Linked DNA regions of Homo sapiens: region 2 is linked to region 1. Evidence: promoter capture Hi-C in 16 types of primary human blood cells and fetal thymus (Javierre and others, 2016). All regions are on one chromosome and are shown on one strand. The core of a region is centred on a gene start or on the middle of the fragment in contact, and the rest is flanking DNA. Distances in the headings are between cores, read along the strand shown. Region 1 holds the start of ALS2CL (ALS2 C-terminal like). Region 2 has its middle 11 kb from the start of LTF.

Evidence for each region. Contacts are between HindIII fragments. The CHiCAGO score rates a contact against its expected background, and 5 or more counts as called.
Region 2: a fragment that was not itself captured here is called in contact with the fragment with the promoter of ALS2CL in region 1 in 1 of 17 cell types (M1 macrophages); the score reaches 5.7 in M1 macrophages.

The regions. Positions count from the first base shown.
Region 1 is chr3:46,692,328-46,695,140 of GRCh38, reverse strand. It overlaps ALS2CL (ALS2 C-terminal like), which reads left to right and starts at 1,462. Exons shown (of 26, transcript NM_147129.5): 1 at 1,462-1,498. It also overlaps a transcript of TMIE not described here. RefSeq lists enhancers at 1-525, 2,107-2,813 and silencers at 1,158-1,237, 1,388-1,637, 1,368-1,662. The HindIII fragment of the contact is 12,869 bases long and covers 1-2,813 here.
Region 2 is chr3:46,474,655-46,477,587 of GRCh38, reverse strand. It overlaps a transcript of LTF not described here. Among named protein-coding and RNA genes, the nearest start is that of LTF, 11 kb to the right of the region's middle. The HindIII fragment of the contact is 172 bases long and covers 1,323-1,494 here.

The DNA.
Region 1 (2,813 bases), core at 213-2,712:
ACAGTCCCGCAGGCCAACAGGGCTGTGAAGGGGAGTGGGGGCCAAGGTCCGGAGCCTGGGGGTGGAGGGCATGGGGAGGGGAGGCTTTCCCAGAGGGCCAGAGGGACACCTCACCAGAAGCCTCCTTGAGGTAGCCCCCACCCACCAACACAGCAACACCTCTAGCAGGCAGGGACCAGAGGAGCAAGGCCTTTGGGAGTGGAGCCCCTCAGGCAGCAGGGGGTGCAGAAGGGGGCAAGAAAACAAGGCTGGAAAAGGGGAGGCCAGAGCTAGGGCGGGCTTTGGCAATGTGGGGAGGGATGGAGAAGCAGGAAGGGGCGGCTCTGCAGGATTGGGACCCAGGAGGAGAGCAATGTGGGGCAAAAGGGTGAGGTCACTGGGACCTGCAGTCACTCAGACAAGGGTCCCAGGCTGGAAACCCTCCAAGGGGTGATGTGCAGCTTGGCAGACAGTAAACTCCCACCTCGCAACAACCCAAGGGAGCCAGGGGATGAGCTTGGCAGGCCCCAGGCCCCTACTTACCTCCACTGGGGGTCTCTTCAGCCTGGCAGGTTGGGGGATGCCTCCCACCTCCTCAGTAGGGGGCTGAGTAGGGGGCTGGTGGGCCACCCTTTCTGCTCTTCCACGGCCGCCTTGGACCCTGAGCCTCCCCCTCACTGGAACCTGAGTGCCACTGAGAGCAATGGGTGACTAACCTGGTGGCCAGAGGGGGAATCAGGCTGCTGACGGGGGGCTTCTTTGTTACAGGTTTGAACTAAGTTCCCTCCCGCTCCCGGGGGGTCTGTCCCAGATAAGTCTTCAGCCACCCTTTCCAAGGTCTCAGGCCTTCGCACAAAGCACACGCGGCCGGCTTCATGCTCTACTAGGCCTGTTGAGACTCAGGAGTGGGGAGGAAAGGGGACTTCCCCAAGGTCGCACAGGAGGGGCGGCCGGCCGTGGACACCCAGCCCAGGGGGCCGCAGGGCGCCTCAGTATACCCCTCTACAGGCTCCAAGTTCCACGAACCCACACAGCGCTCCGCGTGTGCTGGCTTCTGTGACTCAGGGCAGACCCGGGAGGTCACGGGGCTGCACCACAGGCTCGCAGAGCGACTGACTGGCGGGGCGAGGTGGTGGCACGGCGGCCTCGGAGCCTTGCAGGGGAAGCGGGGCGCGAGAGGCGAGCCTGAGTGTGCGCGTGGGTGCGTAGGGGGCGGAGGGGTCAAGACTCCCACTTTTCCTCCCCGCGCCGGGTCCCAGGGGCCTCCGGATCCCGGGGGACGCCAGAGGGAGGCCTCAGGAGAGGCTTGGGGCGGCGGGACGGATCAATACCGCGCGCCAGCTCCTCGGTGGCCCGCCCGTGGCCCCCGCAACTCCAGAGCAACACCCGGAGGCGGGGCGGGGCGGGGCTGGGCGAAGGGGGCGGGGCTGGCAGGGGGCGGGACTGGCAGGGGGCAGGGTGGGGGTGCGAGCGAGGAGCCGCACAGGCAGTCCCGGCGCGGGGCAACCACAGCGCTCAGGTAAGGGCGCGACGAAGGGCGCGCGTCTGCGGACGGGTGTCTGCGCTCCACGCTTAGCTCGTCCAGGTGGGGGCTCCCGCCTCCTCGGCTGCTGCGGTCCCCGCCCAGCTCCTTGGTCCCGGCGGCAGTCATCCCCCGGCCGTCCGAGTCCCTCGTAAGATACCCCGCTCACAGCGTCGTCCTCCCTGCCTGGCTGCTAGCCTGCTTGGGTTCGGGGCAGCGCCCCGGGCCTGACCTGAGCCGTGGTGGCAGGGCCACGGGGCCCCAGCCAGCAGGAGAGACTGCCAGGAGGAGGTGACGCCGGCTGGTTAGGGCGGAAGGGCCCGACCCGGGATTCCAGGAGGTGGCCTTTTCGCATGGGAGCGGCATGGCAAATGCCTGGCGGCCGGAACAGGAGCTCGGGTCTGGGAAACTCCAGCGACTGAGTGTGTGCCTGGGCAGGGAGAGGAAGGGAAGCTGGGACATATGCGACAGCAGGGAGGGGTGCTTGTCTAGGACAAGAGGCTTGTAGCCATGGTGGGGCCGAGGAAGGGTGCAGCGGGGAGAGGCGAGCATGAGACTGAGGGATCAGGTGTGACAGTTCAGCGCCCCCTCCCTGGGGCAGTGCGTGTCTCTACTCTCCCCCACTGGGCACCAGACAACGAAGGGGCTGCCACGGCAGCCCATGAAAAAGCCTCCACAGCAGGCAGAACTTCCCTGCCTGTTCAGACCAGGAAATACCAGAGTGAGTGAGTGTCACGACAAGGTGTGTCAGGGGCCTAAGGAGCCAGGCCTGGGAGAGGACAGGGAAGGCCCCAGTGACCCTGCCCGGGAGGGACCTAGCGTGGACAGAGGCCAGGAATGCAGAGGAGAGACCAGGTCTGGCTACTGGTTAGAGCGCCACAGGGGCAGCCGCTGACTCACCTGGGCACGCCGTGACTGGCCAGTTCTGTCCTCACCCTGCCCCACCCCACCGCACCCCGTGGTGAGCATCAGGGCTGCCTGAGGACAGCTGTGAGGCAGGGCCCGTCAGGATCTTGCTCTGTGCCTCAGGTGAGTTGCCCACCCTCTCTGAGCCATCTAGCTAGGTGAACCTGGTGGGCTGGAGCCAGAAGTCTGGGTCTGAGCCCTGCACAAGTTCTACACAAGGGTCTCTGGACCCTCCCATTGTTCCTGGGCCTCAGTTTCCCCATCTGTACATTAGGCACAGCCTGTCACTAAGGAACCTTTGAACTGGAGGGAGGGAGAGGGTGAGGAAGCTATGCCCTTGACTGGAAGGGGGAAGGTTAGGGATGGGACAGGGGTTGGGGAGGGGGGTACTCCTGCAGGATCCTCC
Region 2 (2,933 bases), core at 159-2,658, 220 kb after region 1:
TATTCCTATTTTCACATGGGGACACTGAAGCTGAGACAGGCTGAATGACGTGGCTAGATCTGGGGAGTGGGGAAGAGGTAGAGCTGGTTTCAAACTCCCCTGCCTGCGATGTTTAACCACTCTCATCACTGACCCTGCCTTTCAGGCACCAGACTACCCAGTGAATCAAAGGGACAAGGGAGTCGCCTAGAATGCAGGTGTGGCCTTGGGATGTGCTCAGAAGGGCCAGGCTTCATCTGGGCTTAGAAGAGCTGAGGGAGGAGGAGCCCTGGGCTCCCTCACAGAGGCAAGTGGAGGGAAATGGTGACTCTGAAGAATATTGAAAGAACTATCCGCCAATGAGAAAAAGCCTTACCAAATAATCAAACAATGGACAAAAGACATTCCCAAACAGAGTGGCTGAAATGAAAAAGACAGACAATGGCAGTGTTGGCAAGGATGTGAAGCCCCTAGAACTCTCATATACATTGGTGGGAATATGAATTGCTACAATTAACTTTGGAAAACTAGCAGAATTTTCTAAAGCAGAACGTAGTCATATGCTGTAAAACTCCATTCCTAAGTACATGACCAACAGAAAAGAATACATATGTTCGCTTCAGCACCATTGTAATAACCCCAAGTTAGAAACGACCAAAATATCTATTACCAATAGAATAGACAGGTAACTTTGGTACACTCACATACATAAAGATTATACAGAAGTGAGCATGTAAGAGCTATTTCTTTATGGAACAACATTGGAGAATCTAATAAACAAAATTTTAAACAGAAAACCTCAGGCACCTTCTATACAATTCCATTTATAAAAACTTCACACACAGTCATAATGAATACATTGTGTTAGATGTCAGGATAGTGATCACCTCTGGGGTAGTGATTGGAAAGAGGCATGTATAGAGTTTTTGTGGGCGGGTAATCTTCTCTTACTTTATTTGAGAGCTGTTTTTTAGCGAGGTGTTCAAATTTTAAAAATTCATCAAACTCTACATGTATGATTTGTGCATCTGCTGTTATATATGCATATGTATGCTACACTTTAATAAAAAGTGTGTTTTTAAAAGACAAATATTGTCATTTACAGACTGCAAGAGAAATGTAAGTTTGGCTTGGTATTTGAAAATAAATTGGTATGATTCATAACCAAAGAGAAAAATCAAATGATTATCTCAGTTGATGCTGAAATTCAACATCCATTCATGTTTATAACTAACTATCTAAAGGGACTTCCTTAATCTACAAAAGTTTCTATAGAATCTACATATCTACAAAAAAGCCAACAGCAAATAGATATCATATTAATGGGGACAATGTTGAAAGCTTGCCTTCTGAGATCAGGAACAAGACCCGGATGCTGTTATCTCCATATCTGTTCAACATTGTACGGAAAGTCCCATCTAGTGCAAAATCACTGGAAAGAAAGGATAAAGCTCTCATTATTATGTTAGTGGAAACTCCCAAGTAATTAGATTTTATAAGTGAATTTAATAAGCTTGTCAAACAGAAGGATAAATACAAAAATAGATTGTATTTCTAATACTAGCAATTATTACCAAATGAAATAAAAATTAGAAAATGAATTAAAGGATGATCTCACAAGCAGAATGTTGAATGAAGGAAATCAAATACAAAAGAATACATATTATATGATTCCATTTATATAAAATTCAGAAGTAGGCAGATCTAAGGTGTAGTGTAGAAATTATAGTAGTAGCTAGCTTTAGGGGTTGGGAGATGGTGTGGGGTTGAGCAGAGGCATAAGCGGTTTTTGAATGTTAGCAGTTTTCTTTGACCTGGGTGGTGGTTACATGAGTGTTCTTTGGGATAATTTGCTCAATTGTACATTTATGTTTTATATTTCTCCATATGAGAGTTTTTTTTAACTTAAAAAAGATTACTTGGCCAGCTTGAGTTGGGTGGTCTCTAATGGTCAATTGGCTGCAGCTGGATCAAAGGAGCCACATGGTTCCCATGGTAATGCCTTGCAGGGCCATAGAGTTGGAGAGTAGATGAAGAGAGGGTGTGTGTGTGTGTGTGTGTGTGTGTGTGTGTGTGTGTGTGTGTGTGTGTGTTTAGGGGGAGAGCAGATGAAAGTGACTGACATCTCATAGGGAGTTTCTCCCAAGAATAACAGAGATGACCCTCTCCTTTTTCTCTCTTGCTAACAAACGGGCCTCATGGAATGTATTGGAGAGTATTTCCTCTTTTCGGTTTTGGAAGAGGTTGTGTGGAATTGGTGATAATTATTTAAATGTTTAGTAGAACTCGACAGTGAAACCATTTGAGTCTGAAGATTTCTTTTTTGAGAGTTTTAAAATCATGAGCTCTGTTTCTTAATTCAGATGATCTGTTTCATATTGTGAGTTGCAATAGTTTGTTTTTTTGGAGAAATTGGTCAATTTCATATCAGTTGTCAAATGTATGTGTGTAGAGATCTTTTAGTAGTCCTTGAGTTATCCTTCCATTGTCTTTAGGATCTGTTGTGATAGCTTCTGTTTTCTTTCTTTTGCTTGCTTTAGGTTTATTTTACTCTCCCTTTTCTGGTTCCTTGAGGTGGCAGTTTAGATTACTGATATGAGGCTTTTCCTCCTCTAATGTAATCATTTGGTGCTACAAATTTCCCTCTGAGTACAGCTTTAGCAGCATCCCACACATTTTGATATGCTGTATTTTCATTCTCATTAAGTTCAGTGTATTTGAAAAAAGTTTTACTTGAGGTTTCCTCTTTGACCCACTGATGATTTAGAAGTGTGATATTTAGTTTCTAACTGTTTGGAGATTTCTCTGCTATCTTTTTGCTAGTGATTTCTAGTTTGATTTTATTGTGATCAAAGAATAAATTTTTATGATTTCAATTTTTAAAAAATTGTTGAGGTTTGTTTTATGTCCCAGGAAATGGTCTATCTTGGTAAGTATTCTGTGGGAACTTGAAA